Linked DNA regions of Homo sapiens: region 1 is linked to region 2. Evidence: promoter capture Hi-C in human tissues and cell types (Jung and others, 2019). All regions are on one chromosome and are shown on one strand. The core of a region is centred on a gene start or on the middle of the fragment in contact, and the rest is flanking DNA. Distances in the headings are between cores, read along the strand shown.

Evidence for each region. Contacts are between HindIII fragments. The study calls those that stand out against the background at their distance.
Region 1: a contact is called between the fragment with the promoter of SPN here and the fragment with the promoter of SULT1A2 in region 2, in 1 of the 25 tissues and cell types used here (dorsolateral prefrontal cortex).

What each region holds. Positions count from the first base shown.
Region 1 is chr16:29,660,650-29,664,506 of GRCh38, forward strand. It overlaps SPN (sialophorin), which reads left to right and starts at 2,598. Exons shown (of 2, transcript NM_003123.6): 1 at 2,598-2,667; 2 at 3,046-3,857. The coding sequence starts at 3,080. RefSeq lists enhancers at 1,313-1,362, 2,003-2,082 and silencers at 2,263-2,322, 3,583-3,702. The HindIII fragment of the contact is 34,536 bases long and covers 1-3,857 here.
Region 2 is chr16:28,595,094-28,599,110 of GRCh38, forward strand. It overlaps SULT1A2 (sulfotransferase family 1A member 2), which reads right to left and starts at 1,957. Exons shown (of 8, transcript NM_001054.4): 1 at 1,904-1,957; 2 at 690-841; 3 at 457-582; 4 at 274-371. The coding sequence starts at 837. RefSeq lists enhancers at 1,895-2,189, 3,823-4,017. The HindIII fragment of the contact is 13,947 bases long and covers 1-4,017 here.

The sequences.
Region 1 (3,857 bases), core at 1,348-3,847, 1.1 Mb after region 2:
AAGGAAAAGTGCAAAACACTAAAATGGATGAATACATGCTTGTGTAAACACAGACACTGTCAGGAATGTTTGTCTGGAGGTGATGGGTATGGAGCCTTTTTGTCTGATATATTGGGTGTATCAAGAATGCCAGGTCCTGAGCAGTTTTTTTTTTTTTTTTTTGAGTTGGAGTCTCACTCTGTTGCCCAGGCTGGAGTGCAGTGGCACAATCTCTGCTCACTGCAACCTCCACCTCCTGGGTTGAAGCGATTCTCGTGCCTCAGCCTCCCGAGTAGCTGGGATTGTAGGCGCCCGCCACCATGCCCAGCTAATTTTTTGTGTTTTTAGTAGAGACGGGGTTTCACCATGTTGGCCAAGCTGGTCTCGAACTCCTGACCTCAGGTGATCTGCCTGCCTCGGCCTTCCAAAGTGCTGGGCTTACAGGCATGGGCCACCGTGCCCAGCCGTTTATATGTATTAACTCTTAATCATCAAAACAAACTATGTGGTATTACCATAATTATCGCCATTTATACAAAGCAACAGAGGGATAAGGAGATTAAGGCACTTGCCCAAGTGCAAGAGGTAGGACAGGAACCCAGAGTCCCGTGCTGGTAGCTGCTTTTCTGTGCACTTAACATTATCTCATTTAATTCTTGCAGTCACTTCATGAAGAAGGTGGCGGTCCTAGGGCATTGGAGAAGTTATGTGCTTGTTCAAGGTCATGCAGCTGGAAGATGGTGGTGGTAGGACAGGAAGTCTGTAGGGCCTGATTCTGCAGCCCTCTAGTCTATACTCCTTTGCTCCTGTGTCCCTCATCCCCCCTGCAGAATGGGCACCCCGTTACCTTTCTGAGCCACTGTGCGCAGAAAAGAGAGCATGTTGGCCAGGCTGGTCTCGAACTCCTGACCTCAAGTGATCAGCCTGCCTTAGCCTCCCAAAGTCCTGGGATTACAGGCGTGAACCACCACGCTCAGCCTCTGAATACTTTGTACTCAAGCCATTTTTCAGTGCTGTGTTTGCAGTGAGCACACCCGAGGGATGAAGACACGTCTCCCTGTGGGAACCTGGGCTTACCAGGGCCCCTAGAGGAGGGGAATCTCTCAAGCTCAGAGCTCTATGGCTGCGGTGCAGGCCCACTGTGTGCATGGTGTCAGTCTGGGCCCTTCCATGTTGCCCCCGTGGGACTTGGGGTAAGGGGAACTGATGCAAACATCACGCTGCTGTTGCTTGGTGTGAGCAATTAATTCCTGTGGCTCTCACCCAGGAGTCTCATGTCTTTGGGTCAGACAAACTCATCAGCTTGTAGAAATGGCACAGTCCCACGGGCCTGTTAGAATCTTCTATTGTGCACATGTTGCTCTTAAAATATACAAATCAGTTTTGATTTTAAAAAATTATTTATTTTTTTAGTGATAGGAGTTTTGCTACGTTGCCCAGGCTGGTTTCAAACTCTTGGGCTCAGGAGGTCCTCCCACTTTGGCCTGGACTGCCAGCATAATGTATCACCACACCCGGGACTGATTTTCGTTTTTCAAGAACAAAAACCAAAAACATACACAAACCGAGAGTCAAAGCTTGCTAATTAGAGGAAAGTCAGGAAATGGGAACCATTCAAAGAAGAAAATACCCCCACCTCCTACTCTCACCTATCCAAAGACAATTAGGTGAATCCCTTAGTAGATATCTTTCCAGACGGTTTTCCATATAGATTCCCATATCTGGCCAGGCGCGGTGGCTCACACCTGTAATCCTAGCGCTTGGGGAGGCTGAGGCGGATGGACCACCTGAGGTCAGGAGTTCGAGACCAGCCTGACCAACATGGAGAAACCTCGTCTCTACGAAAAATACAAAATTAGCCGGGCACAGTGGTGCAAGCCTGTAATCCCAGCTACTCAGGAGGCCGAGGCAGGAGAATTGCTTGAACCTAGGAGGCAGACATTGTGCTGAGCCGAGCCAAGATCATGCCATTGCACTAAACTCCGCCTTAAAAAAAAAAAAAAAGATTCCCACATCTTTACTAGTTTGCAGAAATAAGATCCTAGCATATGCAGTGTGTAGGAACCACCTTGGTTTAGCCACGTCTCTGTGACTGGGGGCCACTGTGGTGACCCCCAGCTCCCCGGACAGAGTCAAGAGCTCACCAGCCTGCAAAGGTTTTCACGGCCCCCAGCCAGACTCGGGGGCTTCCTCTTGCCCTGCTACTTCCTGGGAGCTCTGAGGGCAGGAAATGGCGCCACTCAGCTCCTGGCCTAACAGCTTGGGGACCACAAATGCAAAGGAAACCACCCTCCCCTCCCACCTCCTCCTCTGCACCCTTGAGTTCTCAGGCTCACATTCCCACCACCCACCTCTGAGCCCAGCCCTCCCTAGCATCACCACTTCCATCCCATTCCTCAGCCAAGAGCCAGGAATCCTGATTCCAGATCCCACGCTTCCCTGCCTCCCTCAGGTGAGCCCCAGACCCCCAGGCACCCCGCTGGCCCCTGAAGGAGCAGGTGATGGTGCTGTCTTCGCCCAGCAGCTGTGGGAGCAGGCGGGTGGGGCAGGATGGAGGGGTGGGTGGGGTGGGTGGAGCCAGGGCCCACTTCCTTTCCCCTTGGGGCCCTGTCCTTCCCAGTCTTGCCCCAGCCTCGGGAGGTGGTGGAGTGACCTGGCCCCAGTGCTGCGTCCTTATCAGCCGAGCCGGTAAGAGGGTGAGACTTGGTGGGGTAGGGGCCTCAGTGGGCCTGGGAATGTGCCTGTGGCTTGAAAAGACTCTGACAGGTTATGATGGGAAGAGATTGGGAGCCATTGGGCTGCACAGGGTCAGGGAAGGCCAGGAGGGGCTGGTCACTGCTGGAATCTAAGCTGCTGAGGCTGGAGGGAGCCTCAGGATGGGGCTGATGGGGGAGCTGCCAGCATCTGTTCCTCTGTCATTTCTGATAACAGTAAAAGCCAGCATGGAAAAAACCGTTAAACCGCAGGTTGGGCCTGGCCGTTGGCAGGGAAGTGGGCAGAGGGGAGGCCCGGCCAGGTCCTCCGGCAACTCCCGCGTGTTCTGCTTCTCCGGCTGCCCACCTGCAGGTCCCAGCTCTTGCTCCTGCCTGTTTGCCTGGAAATGGCCACGCTTCTCCTTCTCCTTGGGGTGCTGGTGGTAAGCCCAGACGCTCTGGGGAGCACAACAGCAGTGCAGACACCCACCTCCGGAGAGCCTTTGGTCTCTACTAGCGAGCCCCTGAGCTCAAAGATGTACACCACTTCAATAACAAGTGACCCTAAGGCCGACAGCACTGGGGACCAGACCTCAGCCCTACCTCCCTCAACTTCCATCAATGAGGGATCCCCTCTTTGGACTTCCATTGGTGCCAGCACTGGTTCCCCTTTACCTGAGCCAACAACCTACCAGGAAGTTTCCATCAAGATGTCATCAGTGCCCCAGGAAACCCCTCATGCAACCAGTCATCCTGCTGTTCCCATAACAGCAAACTCTCTAGGATCCCACACCGTGACAGGTGGAACCATAACAACGAACTCTCCAGAAACCTCCAGTAGGACCAGTGGAGCCCCTGTTACCACGGCAGCTAGCTCTCTGGAGACCTCCAGAGGCACCTCTGGACCCCCTCTTACCATGGCAACTGTCTCTCTGGAGACTTCCAAAGGCACCTCTGGACCCCCTGTTACCATGGCAACTGACTCTCTGGAGACCTCCACTGGGACCACTGGACCCCCTGTTACCATGACAACTGGCTCTCTGGAGCCCTCCAGCGGGGCCAGTGGACCCCAGGTCTCTAGCGTAAAACTATCTACAATGATGTCTCCAACGACCTCCACCAACGCAAGCACTGTGCCCTTCCGGAACCCAGATGAGAACTCACGAGGCATGCTGCCAGTGGCTG
Region 2 (4,017 bases), core at 707-3,206:
TATTCATCGTTTTTTGAGACAGTGTTTCTCTGTCACCCAGCCTGGAGTGCACTGGTGTGATCATAGCTCACTGTAGCCTTAAACTCCTAGGCTCAGATGATCCTCCCACCTCAGCCTCCTGAGTAGCTGGTATTACAGGCACACACCACTATGCACAGCTAAGTTTTTTTTTTGGAAGAGACTTATCTGGAACTTCTGGCTTCAAGGGATCTTCCCACCTCAGCCTCCCAAAGTACTGAGATTGCGGGTGTGAACCACTGTGCCCAGTCTCACCTTGACCTTCTGATCCAACAGAGTCTGGGGGAGCAGAGCCAGGGGCAGGTGTGTCTTCAGGAGTCGTGGGGCTGGTGTGTTTTTCAGAGTCTCCATCCCTGAGCAGTGGGTCAGGGAAGGTCTGGTGAGCTGAAGCCCCAGCCCTGTCTTCCTCCACTCCCCTTGCACCCAGGACACACACACCTGAGGGAATCCCTGGGACTTTGAACTCAAGGAAGGGCACCCGCATGAAGATGGGAGCTCGGTGACACTTTTCCAGGTCACCGCCCTGGTAGATCATGTCCAGAATCTGGCTCACCCAGGTGGTGCCTGGAGAGGGAGGGAGATGGGAGGTGAGCAGGCTGAGGTGAGCATGACCTCGCTGGCCAAGGTGGGGACTGCCACCTGGGAGAGGGTGGGTGGCCCTCCTCACCTACCGGACTTGGGGTAGGTGCTGATGAGCAGGTCATCAGGCCGGGCCTGGAAGCTCTGCAGGGGCCCCAGTGCCTCTGCAAAGTACTTGATGAGCGGGACCCCCTTCACGTACTCCAGTGGCGGGCGAGAGATGTCCTGGATCAGCTCCATGTTCCTGCGTCAGGGGCCAGAGCCAGGCCCGTTCCCTTACCACCATCACAACAGCAAGAAAGTGGAATTCTTGCTTTCAGGGAAGTCACTGAGGCCTAGGGAGGCTGAGTGACTTGCCCGCACTCACAAGGCCAGTCAGTGGCGGGGCTGGGGCTGAAAACCAGGTCGGGCTCTAATGTGGTGGTTCCCCAGCCTGGCCTCACCTTTCATTCACCTGCGGAGCTGTTCAAAATCCCAGGGCCTGGGCCATGGTGCAGACCAGTGAAAGCACCCTCGTGGCGCGGGGCCCAGATGTCAGGGTGTGTGAAGGTCTCCAGGAGAGTCCAGCTGCACTGAGGAACCTCTAGGACCTTCCTGTGCTGTCTTCCTGCCAGCCAGCGCCCTTTGTCTCACCATTTCCTGCTGGGACCCCCAGCCTCCACCCAGTAGGCTCCTCTCCCCGATGTTCCCCTCCTTGAGCCCCTCGGCCCCTCACATGTGGCAACTCCTAGGCTGGCCAGGCCTGTGATCCACTTGCCCGGCCACAGTCCATCTGGGCTCCAGGACAAACAGCCCATTGAGCAACTGAGCTGGTATTGGGGGCCAGAGCCTGATGTGGGAATGAGCAAAACTGTGATGACTCAGCAAAAGGAGGATCCTGGGCAGGGTGGCTCCCACCTGTAATCCCAGACCCTAGGGAGGCTGAGGCCAGAATTTGGAGACCAATCTGGGCAGCATTGGAAGACCCCATCTCTAAAAATCTTTTAAAAATATTTTTTAAAACTATCCAGGCAGGATGGTGAGGGTCTGTAGTCCTAGCTACTGAGGCAGGAGAATCACTTGAGCCCAGGAATTCAAGGCTGCAGTGGCCAGGATCCCACAGCACTCCAGCCTCGGTGACAGCAAGACCTGGCCTCCCCGGAAAAAAAAAAAAGGAAGGGAGGGGGATTCAGGCCGGCCGGGGTTGTCTGAAATGGGATATCCATGGGGAGAGGGCAGGGATAGCAGAGGCCTCGGCTTCTGGAATGTTGGAGCCACAAGCTGAGCAGGGTGAGGGCGTCCTGGGCCATTCCGGTGTGTCACTCACCTGAGCTCTTGGGAACCTGGCCTTGTGCCCTCCTCGCCCGCAGTGGCTGAGTGTGGGTGTTGTGTGGGGAATGCAGGGGTGTTGTCTGTGCTGAGGGTTTCTTAGGTCAGTGTGGGAGGGATCTGGAGCCGGGGCTGGACTTAGATTTGCTTCCGGAAGGAAGGGGTAGGGTTGGGGGTGGGGGAGCTTCTCTATTACCCTCCTTAGTTTGCCAGCTGGAGACAAGCTTAAAGTGATCTCCAAAGCCACGACTGGGTTTGGTGTGTAGAAAACAGAAGAATGAAAGGGGAAAGGGCCCAATGGTGGGTTTGTTTTTGTGGGTTTTTTTTTTTGAGCTGTCACTGGGCTCCTGACCTGCCCCTGAACTCCAAAAGACAAGCTTTCTCTAATTGACCCAGGCAAGAGAGGGGAGGGATTGGAGGAGAAAGATGGGATAGGCAGGCCCTGGAAAGGTCACCTACCTGCTGGCTCCAGGCCAGTCTTGAAGGTGCCAGGGGTCCTGGCCCAGTGCAACCCACAGGCCTCCAGCAGCCCATGCACTCCAGGCTCTGACCACAAGGCCAGTCTGGAGTGATGCGTGTGGGCAGAGTGAAGGGGCAGGGGTGGAGCAGAGCATGGATCCATAGAACAAGAAAGAACAAGGACACTGCAGTCCCATTGCCCTGGGAGCCAGCCCCAGCTTCATGGCTCCCTGGGGACCTCACAGAACATCGATAGAAGATCCTAGAAGAACCACAGCCCCTGGCAGGTACTTTTCTTTCCATGGGTTTGAAGGAGGCTCCACAGACAGAGGCCAGAGGAGGTTGAGGCTTGGAAGCCACAGGGCCCCGTGGAAGGAGTGCATCCCCCCACCCTCCTCGTTCTTTGTCCTCACTATTTAAAGTCCAGGGTCAAGCTGGGCACGAGACAGGTAAACAACCATCTGAGTAAAGGTGAGTCTCCCAAGCCTTCCCAGGGTTGCGTGAGCTCAGAGGCAAGCGGGGAAAACTGAGGCATGGGATTTCCAGGCAGAGGAGAGGCTGCTCCCCTGCTAGGGCCACAGGCCCCTCCTCCCTCCTCTGTGCCCCTGAGGAATCCCCATGACTGGCAGGTCCTCCGGCTACTAGCTCCACCCCTGCCCTCAGCAACCTTCAGGAGGCCCTCTTGACTGAGACTTTGTATTGCACTCTAGTGAAAACCAGCCGGACCAGCAGGGGGTGGCACAGAAAAGAGGCGAGAATGTGAGATTAATAGAGTGCTAGCAAGACAACAGAAAATCCCAGGCAGCAGTTTCACATGACCAGAAGAAGGAAACTTGAAATAGCTGCATGTGCCAAGGGCCAATAAGTCCCTGAAAAATAGGATGAGGACCAAGCTGGCTGCGACCAACCAGAAGCAACATGGCGCTGTATTTGATGTAGGTTTCACCTAGGATCTCACTGTACAATCAGTAACATATGAAACCGTACACCCACCAGTGCCAAGACGGCTCCAGGAACACCTGTATTTGGGTGTAAATTGTGGCACCACGGTCTTGAGAAATCTTTACCTTTTCCTGGAATCTTCATGAATATACCCCTCTTTAGTTGAAGAAGCCCATAAAGGTCAGCCCCACACCTTGTAGGGCATGAGACACTCTCTTGAGGACCCCCACGTTCCTCTTCTTCAGTGAGTCCCTTTACTCTGCAGGAAATCTGCCTACGTTCATGACTTTTGCACTTGTCCTTAAATTGTTTCTGGCTAAGGTGCCAAGAGCCTGGAGAAGGCCTGGCACGGTGGCTCACTCCTGTAATCCCAGCACTTTGGGAGGCCGAGGCAGGCAGACCACCTGAAGTCGGGAGTTTGAGACCAGCCTGACCAACATGGAGAAACCTTGTCTCTACTAAAAATAGAAAATTAGTCAAGCCTGGTGGCACACGCCTGTAATCCCAGCTACTTGGGAGGCTGAGGCAGGAGAATCGCTTGAACCCGGGAGGCGGAGGTTGCGGTGAGCCAAGATCACGCCATTGCACTCCAGCCTGGGCAACAAGAGTGAAACTCGGTCTCAAAAAAACAAAACAAAACAAAAAAAAGCGTGGAAACGGGCTGAGGTCGATGTCCCACCGGTCTTTGATGACCTCCCCTAGGCCACCAGT